Regions from separate parts of the Homo sapiens genome. Here region 1 is linked to region 2. The links are contacts of gene promoters, found by promoter capture Hi-C in human tissues and cell types (Jung and others, 2019). All regions are on one chromosome and are shown on one strand. Each heading gives the region's core, a stretch centred on a gene start or on the middle of the fragment in contact. The rest is flanking DNA. Distances are from core to core; before and after follow the strand shown. Region 1 overlaps SYN3 (synapsin III). Region 2 holds the start of RFPL2 (ret finger protein like 2).

What was found. The method cuts DNA at HindIII sites, captures the fragments that hold promoters and counts their contacts. A contact is called where the count stands out against the background at its distance.
Region 1: a contact is called between a fragment that was not itself captured here and the fragment with the promoter of RFPL2 in region 2, in 2 of the 25 tissues and cell types used here (dorsolateral prefrontal cortex and lymphoblastoid cells).

The regions. Positions count from the first base shown.
Region 1 is chr22:32,516,667-32,522,569 of GRCh38, reverse strand. SYN3 (synapsin III) reads left to right here. Exons shown (of 14, transcript NM_003490.4): 13 at 4,236-4,527. Among named protein-coding and RNA genes, the nearest start is that of FBXO7, 45 kb to the right of the region's middle. The HindIII fragment of the contact is 4,695 bases long and covers 1-4,326 here.
Region 2 is chr22:32,202,321-32,208,295 of GRCh38, reverse strand. It overlaps RFPL2 (ret finger protein like 2), which reads left to right and starts at 3,223. Exons shown (of 5, transcript NM_001394555.1): 1 at 3,223-3,589; 2 at 5,746-5,963. The coding sequence starts at 5,845. SLC5A4-AS1 (SLC5A4 antisense RNA 1) reads right to left here and starts at 3,181. Exons shown (of 4, transcript NR_149072.1): 1 at 3,049-3,181; 2 at 1,020-1,160. RefSeq lists an enhancer at 1,049-1,779. The HindIII fragment of the contact is 14,140 bases long and covers 1-5,975 here.

The DNA.
Region 1 (5,903 bases), core at 730-3,229, 320 kb before region 2:
GTTACCCAGCAAGAATTCTATAGTAATAAGTGTTCCGAAACTACATATTCCTCACTCTACCAGGCTCCTGGCTGTGCCTCTGCCCCACACCCTCCTTTCCCCTCTGCCCTGGGACCTGCTTTTTAAAAGCACATTTGAACAGAGCCGTTTTAAAACAGAGAGCTACTGTATTCTGATTTCCTCTCTGGCCCAGAGTAAAACATGCTTGATAAAGAGATATTATTTTAAGGGAAATGAGGCTAAACACACTTTTAGTGAGTTGAAAAACAATCAATTTAAAACCAATTAAGGTAATTAAAGAAAATGCCCAGTGAATTAACGCTCAGATTAAAAATAACAAGGCTAATGAAAAACAACGCTTTCATTGAGTTCCCCAATTAACAAATCACATTATTATTTTGAACTTGCTGTTCATTTCAACTCAGTAAAAGTGAAATTTTCTTTTAATAAGCTTCATGTCTGTGCTTAGGCAAATACTTTCTATATATGTTAATATTTTGTGTATGTGCTCATATGAAAAATACTAAATTGTTTGCTTTGCCAAGAAGCCGAAAGAAATAACTAGGGCAGTGGTAATGGTTAGCACTCTGGTCTCTGAATCCAGTAACTAGGGTGTCTCTCTTGATAAATCCCAGGTATATGATAGGGACTCAACAAAGAGTTACTGAATTAATGAATGGGTATTCACATTTTCTAAGATATCAACCTGGGAAGGGAGGCGAATCAGGGGAAACTGAAGATAAAAGTAGAAAACAAATGTTTTATTTGAACTGCGGTGGGTTTAGAAAACCCAAAAGTAACCAACATTTAAAAATCAGGAGGTGAGCTGGGCGCGGTGACTCACACCTGTAATCCCAGCACTTTGGGAGGCTGAGGTGGGCGAATCACAAGGTCAGGAGTTCGAGACCAGCCTGGCCAATATGGGGAAACCCTGTCTCTACTAAAAATACAAAAAATTAGCTGGGCGTGGTGGCGGACGCCTGTAATCCCAGCTATTTGAGAGGCTGAGGCAGGAGAATCTCTTAACCCAGGAGACAGAGGAGGTTGCAGTGAGCCGAGATCGCGCCACTGCACTCTAGCCCGGATAATAGTGCAAGACTCCGTCTCAAAAAAAAAAAAAAAAAAAATCAAGAGGTGTTGCTTAAACATCTAGATTTCCAGCATCTCTTGATAGCACAGAAGCTCTAGAAACAATGGGCCTGTGTTTCTATACAGCAACTGTCCCTGGCGTTACTAACAGCGGCTTCCTTGATCAGAGCAAGGGCTCCTAGGGGCTCCTGCGTTTGCCTCCAGCCCTACTCCTCACTTCCATAGTGACAGAGAGGGGCAATTGCTATGTTCTTTATGCTTGCACCTCTTCAGAGAAATAGTTCTCTGGACTGTTTTTATCTCAAGTGGGCAAATTTTTGAAAGCCTCATTACTTTTCTTATATTTGCCTGCTTTATTTATTTACATACCTGGTTGGCCCTAGAGGTGTTTGAGATAAATGTGACCTCCCATCTACTCGCCTATACAATCATGAAAGAGGTAATGAATCAAAGCCATGTAATATAATCAGATGCTAAACTGATGCTGCAATTTAATCCAATTTAGTGTTCCACAAGCTCACAAAAATGTTCAGATCGGGAGGGATGTTTGATGTTCAGTCCAATGACCTTATTTTACAAATGAGGGCCCAGAAGCCCAGAGAAGGGGAGTGACTTACCCACGGTCACACAGCGAGTTAATGGCAAGGCTTGAGTCAGGACCTGAGGCTCCTGGTGCCAGTGTGGAGTCAGGGCCACCAGACTCCACAGGTCATGGAGGTTATACAGGTGGCATGTCCTCTGAAAATGTGCTCAGCTGACGTGACATCTGGTAAGGGAGGCTGGCTGAAATCTAGTCCTTGCCCCTTTGGCATCTGGCTCAGAGCTGCTTCAGCTGAAGGAAGCCGCCTTTTCTTAATTAGCAATAAAGATGTTATGAGGACTCAGGCGAGCCTGCGTGGTGTAGTTTTCATAAAGGAAAAAGTAATAAAACAGGGTTTTTGAGTCAAAGAGATCTAGGTTTGAATCTCGGCGTGTCCCCTTATTCGTAGTGACATCTTAAGCAAGTCACAATATATCTGGGTCTCAGTTTCTCTGTAAAAATGGGGCCAAGCACAGTGGCTCACACCTGTAATCCCAGCACTTTGGGAGGCTAAGGTGGGAGAATTGCTTGAGGCCAGGAGTTCAAGACCAGCCTGGGCAACACAGCGACACCCCATCTCTACAAAAAAAAAAAGGCAGAAAGAAAAAGTGGTGTTGGGCCTGTAGTCCCAGCTACTCTAGAGACTGAGGCAGGAGGGTGGCTTCAGCCCAGGGGTTCACTGCTGCGGTGTGACCATGCCACTGCACTCTACCCTGGGTGACAGAGACCCCATCTCTTTAATTAAAAATTATATATATACATACATACCTATATACACGCACACACACACTATTAAAATTATGTTCACCTATTTCTTTTTACTTTTTAAAATGTGCCTACTAGAAAATGTGTAATTATACATGTGGCTCTCTCTAGAGTTCCAGGGACAGCACTCCCATGGCTGGGGGTAGGGGATGAAAATAATGCCTAACCCACAGAGCTGTTGTGCCCAGTCCAAAGCTGGTGACATAATAGGTGCTCAGTAGAAGCCCCATTGTTACAGAGTCACAGAGATGGGTTCCAGCACCTTTTAGTTTTCAGTCTCCTAACGTGCCTACGGTGCTCTCAAAAAAACGTGGCAAGAATAACCCCACTCTCCCAGCAGCAGCATGTCGTAGGGAGAAGAGACCTACGGGCAGCCAGTCGGCTTTGGCAAAATGCAATTCACCATCAACAGCCCTGACACCCAGAATTTGAGGGTTAGGAGAGTGCACCTTGATTGTTGGGGGCCTTGGAATTCTACTCAAAGTCATTTCTGGGTGGCTACAACATCCCCAAGCTTAGATGCCTCTTGGCTTGCTTGTGGAAGCCTGTGTGCCCTGTACGGTGAGAGGGAGAAACCAAGATTCTCTTTGAGCTTTCTGTGGCTCCTCTTCCAACTGGGAAACCTTAATAAGACTCAGTCTCCACCTCTATGTGGTGAGAAGAATGGTATCTTCCCTACTGACCTCTCTAGGTCAAGTGATATGTTGCTTTTGAAAGTTCTTGGAAAAGTTTAGAGAGCAACTCAAAAAGTAAGAGTTAATTCTTGTCGTTGTTTCCAAAGAAATACATCTTCAGTGTGGAAAATACCCGTGAGAAAAAAAAAAAGAGAATTAAAATCCTTCTTAATCTCACCACTTTTGTAATGATTATTTAGTGTCTCATTACTCAACGTAGGATAAGCTGGGAACCCGTTAGAAATGCAGAATCGCAGATCCTGCCTATATTAGTTTTCTCAGGCTGCCTTGATAACAAAATGCCATAGACTGGGGGGGCCTTAAACAACAGATGTTTTTTTCACAGTTCTGGAGGCTGCAGGTACAAGATCAAGGTGCTAGCAGGGTTGGTTTCTGGTACAGCTTCTCTCCTTGGCCTGCAGATGGCAGCCTTCTTTGTGTATCCTCGTGTGTCCTTTCTTCTGTACCTGGGTACATGACACTCCTGATATTTCTTTCTCCTCTTATAAGGACACCAGGCCTATCAGATTAGGGCCCCACCGTATCACCTCATTTAACTTTAATTACCTCTTTAAAGATCCTATCTCCAAATAGAATTGCATTGAGGGTTAGGGTTAAGGTTTCAACATATGAATTGGGACAGGGTGAACACAATTCAGTCCGTAACGCAGCCCGAGACTCACTCTATCAGAATCTTTATTTTGACCAGATCCCCAGTGATTCATATGCACATTAAAGTCTGAGGCACACTGGTTTTAGTGTACAGTCTTCCAGTCTTGCTTTTTTATATATGTTTTTACATATGTGCCAAAATAAAACCATAAGTACTGTATTCTAAGCTATTTTGTTCAGCAGTATAATATTTAGCATATGTTATCAACAGTATCCTGTGTCATTTAGTATTACTCAGCCACATCCTATGTGATGACCACAGCATATTCCATTATACAGATGTATCTTAATGTTCCTAATTACTTCCTTATGGTTAGGTATTTATACGGTTTTCAGTTTTTCACCATTATAAGAAACACTGTAATGAACATCCTTGAAGCAACATTATTTGTGTACAGCCATATCTATCCTAAGAAAAAAAATTGAACTGAACCTTTTTTTTTCTGGCCCCTTAGGAGGCCCTCGCCAAGCTCAGTCTCCTCAGCCCCAGAGATCTGGAAGCCCCTCCCAACAGAGGCTCTCCCCACAAGGCCAGCAGCCCCTGAGCCCCCAGTCCGGATCTCCACAGCAGCAAAGGTCACCAGGCTCTCCGCAGCTATCCCGGGCATCCAGTGGCAGCTCCCCAAACCAGGCCTCCAAGCCAGGTGCCACCCTCGCCTCACAGCCCCGGCCCCCTGTGCAGGGCCGTAGTACCTCCCAGCAGGGTGAAGAGTCCAAGAAGCCAGCACCACCCCATCCGCATCTCAAGTAAGTGCTTTGGGAATTGGAAAAGGTATAGGATAGAGCTGGGGTGTAGGCAGAGCTTGGCTGATTCAGGGTTAGGGACTTGGAGACAAAGGAAGACCCAACGAGGCCTTGCCTAGACTTCAAATAGGTAAAAACAGGACTAGAGGACAGAATTTGCTGGGGAGGCCCAACAAGGTGAGAGTATAGATTAGACACCACCGTGACCCTCCGTGTATACACATACCAGCCATTTACCAGCTATTGTTTGCTGCATAACAAACAACCCCAAAACTTAGTGGCTGAAGAAAACAATCATTCTCTTTGTTCATAATTTTTTGGTTCAGCTGTTTGTTCTGAGTTTAGCTCAGCTGGGAGGTTCTTCTGCTGGTGTCTCCTATAGAGTTACAGAATAAAACATAGGATACCCAGTTAGATTCACATTTCAGATAAAAAACAGATAATTGTGAGTATAATTATGCCCCAAACATTGCATGGAATATACTTACACTAAAAAAAAAGTCTTAGCTTTTTATCTGAAATGCACATTTATCTACACATTTTTATTCGCTAAATCTGGCAACTCTACTTTCCTGGGATCACTCATACGACTGCAGTCATCTGGCAGCTTCACTGAGGCTGGATGGTCCAAGAAGGCCTCACACACACATCTGGTTGTTGGTGCTAGCTGTCAGCTGGGCCTCTTTCTCTCCATGGGGTCTCATCCTCCCCAAGGCTAAGCCGAGCTTTCTTACATGGTAGAACTGCTTTTAAAAAGGGAGAAAGTACAAGCTGCAAGGCCTCTTGAGGCCCAGCCTTGGGAGTTATGAAATGTTATTTTATCACACGCTTTTAGTCAAAGCAAGTCACAGGGCCAAACCCACATTCAAGAGGTAGGAAATAAATTTTTGGTAGGAGGAGCCATGAAGTCACATCTCAAAAGGGCAGGCTACAGGGACAAGAGGAATCATTGCAGTCATTTTTGTAAGCCATCCATCACAATACACATATACATCCTGTTTCCTCTCAGGCCCATCTCTTGGTTTGTCCTAAAGAGAGGTCCCAAGTAACTGATCTTTGGAAAGCTCTACCTTCTTTCAAGGCCAAATGTTGATCATCACAGTTCACAGCTAACAGCTATTGTCCACTTACTATGTGCCAAGCACTTTACTTACTTGGGTTTTTTTTAAGTTCTCACAAGCTTAGGAGTTAATAACTATTTCTTATCCCCATTGTACAGACGAGTAAGCAAAGAAAAGATTAAATAACTTGCCAAAGTTTCCAGTTAATAACTAGAAGAGCTGGGATTAGACCCACGACATCCAGTCCAGGGATCATGCTAACAACTATTTTTTTGAATAGGTAATATATTCACATAGTTCAAAGATCTAAAAGGTATC
Region 2 (5,975 bases), core at 1,974-4,473:
TCCAACACCACACTGCCTAGGCAACACCTGCCCACAGTGGCTTGGACAAGACACCCCTGTCAGCCCCTGGGCTGTAAGTCAGTGGGCCAGCATCTGCCCAAGGCAGGAATCCTGGGAGGGGCTGGCCATTGTCCCTCCTGACTCAGTTGCTCTCAGCTCCCTACTGTGCCATCAGGTGCTCTCAGGACAGATGCTTCCAGGACAGGCTCTTCTACAAAAACGGGGTTGCCTCCTGGGCCTGGAGTCACACCATAGACAAGGAGGCTTTTGGGCACCTAGCCAGGGTCACTCTGCACACATCTCATGAATGAAAATCCTCATCAGAAAATACATCACCGTTCCTCCAGGATGTGACTGTTTCTAGAGAGGGCCTGGTCTCTATCTCCCACTCCCTCCTCCACATGCTACAAGAAATAGAAGCAGCAGCATAAGAAAATGAAGAGGAACAAGAAAATGATGATAAGGAGAAGAAAAGAAAAAGAACAGACAAGGGAATCAGGAGTCCTATTACAGCTTTTGTCCCCTCCCTGATTCATGAAATTTAAAAAAGCCCAAGACTATCCCAACAAAAAACAAGCAAAAAGATACACAAATAGTCACTACCCAAACTTTGTTAATAATGACACAATGCTGCCACTCACGCCTGGCTCAGGACCTACCAGGAGGAGGGCGCCCTCCAGATTCTGCAGGAGAAGCGGAGGAGACTCCTCCTTCCCCAGGCTGCGCCTCCACCGCTGCCCCAGAGGCCCACAGCTTCCTACCCACCCCAGGCCAGGCCCAGCCGGGCGGGTCAGCCCTGGAGCGCTCCTACCCGCCTTCCCAACCTCCAGACTTGCTGCTGCTGCCACCACTAGCACTGATGCCAATACAACCACTGTTCCTGTTGCCCTCAGTCCACTGGTCCACCCTACAAGGCTCCTACCACCTGGATACCACAGCAGGCCTGCCCTTGCCCAGGCAGCAGCCAGCCGCCCTCCTACTGCTCTGGCACTCTGCAGTCTCCATTGCTGCTCTCCTACCGCTCTGGTGCTCTGTAGTCTCCATCGCCACCACCAACCACAGCAAGGTGAGCTGCGGTGCCCCCAGCTCCAGCCTCCAGCATGGAATAAGTGGCTCCTCCTCCTGGCACGGAGCAACTGGGCAGGCAAAGTCAGATAAGCCTAGAACAGGATGCAGAGAGTGGTAGCATTAGAGTCTCACCTTGTCATGCTGGCCACTAGGTGGCAGGGGCCAGTTTTAGCAAAGGCACTCACACCTACCCTCCAAAGCCCAGCCTCCCTTTTTGGCCCAAGTTCACCAGGAACTGGGGCCTGGGGTGGGGACTGGAGACACCACAGTACAGCGTCCGGGCTTCCCACTCGGCACGAATCGCTGGGCCCACCCCTGGCTGCGCTCCTCAGGAAGCAGAAGCAGCAGAAACTCAACCCCAGCCAGCCCTCCCCACCCAAGTGCCGGTACCTCTTCCTGACACCTCCACCCACAGGGCCCTGTCACTCCATGATGTCCGCTACTGTGTGCCCAGGGGTCCCAGACGGTCTCAGCAACACATGGTGAGAGGGCGCGCGCCTGGGAACCACAGCAGGTCTAGGGGCCGGGCCGTGCTCAGGATCCCCGCAGAAATGCTGTGTGCTGGCCAGGAGCAGAAGGAGATGGCCCTCTAGAGACTGGAGTCCCTCTCACCTCCTCTGACCACCGCTGTCACTGACACCTCCGCTGCCCACCACCAGGGGGACGGTGCAGCCCCCGATAGCGCCCCCGACCCTCCCCCACAGCTGGCAGTGTAGCACCAGATGGCAACCCCAACCCGCCCCTGCCTCGGACACTGCAGCACCAATGGCACCCGCAACCCACCCCCTGCCTTGGGCAGCGCAGCCCGGGATAGCGCCCCCAACCCGCTCCCTGCCGTAGGCAGTGGCTGTAGACAGTGTAGCCATGGGTAGCGACCCCAACCAGACCCCTGCCGTGGGCAGTGATGCCCCGATATGGCACCCAAATCGCCCCCTACCCCGGGCAGTGCAACCCTGGATAGTGCCCCTACCTGCTCCCCACCAGGAGAAGCAGCCCAGGATAGCACCCTCAACCCACTTCCTGCCTCCAGGCAGTGCAGCCACAGATAGCACCCAAACTTACTCCCCACCTCGGGCAGTGCGGCCACAGACAGCTCACCTAAACCACCCCCTGCCAAGGGCAGTGTAGCCCCCTATAGTGCACCCAACCTGCCCCTGCTGCAGCCAGTGCAGCCCCAGATAGCACACCCACCCGCTCCCTGCTAGGCAGTACAGACCCCTGATAGCACCCAACCCACCCCTCCACCGCAGGCAGTGTACCCGGCCCTCAATAGCGCCCCCAACCAACGCCCCCACCCCCTCTCCATGGGCAGTCCAGCCCCGGTACCAATCCCAACAACCCCCCGCTACCTGTCTCAGTGTAGCCCCCAGAGAGCGCCCTCAACAACCCCCTCCCCACTGCCAGCAGTGTAGCACCCTATAGTGACCCTAACCCGTCCCCCACCACCAGCATTGCAGCCCCAAATAGTGCCCCCAACCCGCTCCCCACTGTGGGCAGTGCAGCCATGGATAGTGTCCCCAACCAGCTCCCAGATGCAGGCAATGATGCCCTGGATATCACGCCCGCCCCCGTCCCCCACAGGCAGAGTAGCACCGGATAGCAGCACCCACCCTCGCCACCAGCAGTGTTGCACCCACCAGCCCCCCACAACCTGTCCCCAACAAGGGCATCAGGGCATTGCAGCACCTGATAGTTCTACTAACTCACCCCCGCCCCCCGGCCGCGGGCAGTGCATCCCCAGATAGTGCCCCCAAAACTCCCCACTGCCGCAGGAATTACAGCTTCGGATAGCGCCCCAACCCATCTCCAGCCATAGGCTGGATAGCGCCCCCGGATAGCGCCCCCACCCCACTCCCCTCAGCGGGCAGTGACGCCCGAGGTACCACACTCAAGCAGCCCCCCAACACGGGCAGTGACGCCCTGGATAGGGCCCCCAACCCGCCCCCCACGCCACAGGCAGTACGGCCTGGGATAACGAACCTATTCTGCCACCTTTTCACCATTCTGGCTGCGCTGTAGTCACCCTCGCGGCCACCAACCGCAGCAGCGAGGTGAGCCACTGTAGGCTCCAGCCTCCAGCATGCGCGGTAGATGACTCTAGCCTCTGGCATGCGCGGCAAGTGGCTCCTCCTCCTTCTCCTCTAAGCCGGGCACAGAGCAGCTACGCAGGCCGACGCAGATGAGCCTGGAAGGGCAAGCCACCCCTCTTGGCATCCTTTATATACTGAGTTTAATGCAAATGAAGTTTCTCGACTACATAGTCTGATCGGATGAGAGAAACCTCTAGGCCTACTCTGATCGGGCTTTGTTATCTTGTTCTGATTGGTTATCCTAAGACTTGCTGTCATCCAGTCAGAACGTGAAAATAAAGCACAATCAGAGTAGACCTAGAGGTTTTTCTCTCATCCAATCTGAACATGTAGTCCAGAAACCTTACTTGCATAACCTCGGTCTGTGGGGGGAGGGGTTCTTGCCATTCCAGGCACTTCTGCGTCTGCCAGCCCATCTGCTCCATGCCCAGGTTAGAGGAGGAGTCACCTGTCCCACGCTGGAGGCTTGAAAGCCTGCAGCAGCATGGCTCGGCTCGCTGCCGTTGGTGGCGGTGAGGGAGACTAGACCGCAGCCAGAATGTAGAAAGGTGGCGGGGTGGATGAGCTATCCAGGGCTCACTGCCTGCGGCAGGGGGCGGGGAGGGGGACAGGTTGGATGCACGATCTGGAGCTGCACTGCCCGAGGTGGGAGCGGGGGCGGATTGAGGGCGCCATCGTGGGCTACAACCCGGTGGTGGGAGGCGTGTTAGGGGCAGTATTGGGTGCTGCACTGCCTACAGCACGGGAAGGTTGGGTGCTTTACCGGACGTCATTTCCCGCAGCCGCGGGGTGGCTTGCTGGGGGCGCTATCCGTGGCTGCACTGGTCGCGCTGGGGTACGGGTTGGGGGCGCTATCTGGGACATCAGTGCGCATGGCAGGGAACTTGTTGGCTGTGATATCCGAGGCGTCACTGCCCTTGGCTGGGGGCTGGTTGGGGGCTCTATCTATGGGCTACACTGCCTACAGCCAGGAGCGTGTTGGGGCGTTATCGGGGCGGACTGCCAGTGGCGGGGGTGGGGGTGCGGGTTGGGTGCTATCGGGGGGCTTCACTGCCTGGCAGGGAGTGGATTGGGTGCGCTATTTGGGGTTGGACTGCCGGCGGTGGTTGACTCGGTGGGAGGAGAGGGGCAGAGGGAATGGGTTGGATGCACTATCGGGAGCTACACTGCCCGAGGCGAGGGGGAGATGGGGGCGCCATCGTTGGCTACACCGCATGTAGTGGGGGGCGTGTAAGGAGCAGTAGTGCGTGTTGCATTGCTCATGGCGGGGGAGGGTTGGGTGCGTTATCCCGGGCGTCATTTCCCACAGCGGCGGGGGTCAGTGGAGGGGCTTGTTGAGGGCGCTATCCATGGCTGCACTGGTCGCTGAGGGGCAAGGATTGGGGGCGCTACCTGGGACATCAGTGCCATGGTGGGGAACTTGTTGGGTGTGTTATCCGAGGCATCACTCCCCATGGCTGGGGGCTGGTTGGGGGCGCTACCCATGGGCTGCACTGCCCACAGCCAGGAGCGTGTATGGGACATTATCGGGGGCGGACTGCCAGTGGCTGGGTGGGGAGGCGGGTTGGATGCTATGTGGGGTTGCACTGCCCAGCAGGGAGTGAGTTCGGTGCGCTATCTGGGGTTGCACTGCCGGCGGTGGGTGGCAGATTGGGTGCCCTATCGCTACACTGCCGCGGCGAGTACCGGGTTGGCGGCGCTATCCTGGGCTACACCGCCGGTGGCGGGAGGCGTTTTAGGGGCGCTATCTGGTGCTGCACTGCCCGCGCAGGAGTTGGGTTGGGTGACCTACTCCAGGCGTCACTGCCCGAGGCTGGGGGCTGATTTGGGGCGCTATCCCGGGAGTCATTTCCTGTGGCGAGGGGCTGGTTGAGGGTGGTATCCGTGGCTGCACTGCCCACAGCACAGAGCGGGTTTGGGGAGTTATCCCGGGCTGCGCTGCCCGTGGCAGGGGGCAGGCTGCCAGCGCCATTGGGTGCTGCATGTACTAGGCACGGATGAGTTAGGGGCGCCATCTGGGACTGCACTGCCGGTGGCGGGCGGTGGAGGTGTCAGTGACAGCGGTGGTCTGCAAGAGAGGAGCGGTCCTCCTCTTCCCGGCCACCTCCTCCTGTTCTTGCTCAAGTGCGGCGGGCGCACAGCATTTCCTGAGCGCGGCAGGGGCCCCAGCCCCGTGGTGCTTCCTGGACCCGCCTCCTATTGCTCTGTGTTGCAGAGACCGCCTGGGACCCCGGGGCACGCAGTAGTGGACACGAGGAGGCTACAGGGCCCTGTGGGTGGAGGAGGCATCAGGAACGGGAACCGGCACTTGGGTGGGGAGGGCTGGCTGGGGTTGAGTTTCTGCTGCTCCTGCTTCCCGAGGAGTGCAGCCAGGGTGGCTGCAGCTGTTCCTGTGGAGTGGGAAGCCCGGGCACTGTGGTGTCTGCAGTCCCCACTCCAGGCCGCAGTTCCTGGCCAGCTTGCGCTAAAAGGAGAGGCTGGACTTTGAAGTGTGGGTGTGAGTACCTTCGCTGAAACCGGCCCCTGCCACCCAGTGGCCAGCATGACAAGGTGCGCTCTAATGTTACCACTCTGCATCCTGTTCTAGGCTTTTCTGGCTTTGTCTGCCCGGATGCCCAGTGCCCTGAGAAGGAGCTACATGCCACGGGCTGGAGGCTAGAGCCTGTGGCACCATGATTTGCCTCCGATGGAGGTGGCTGAATTAGGCTTCCCAGAGACTGCAGTGTCCCAATCCAGGATCTGTCTATGTGCTGTATTGTGTGGCCACTGGGACTTTGCAGACATGATGGTGATAAGGAGCCTGAGGTGAGAGACAAT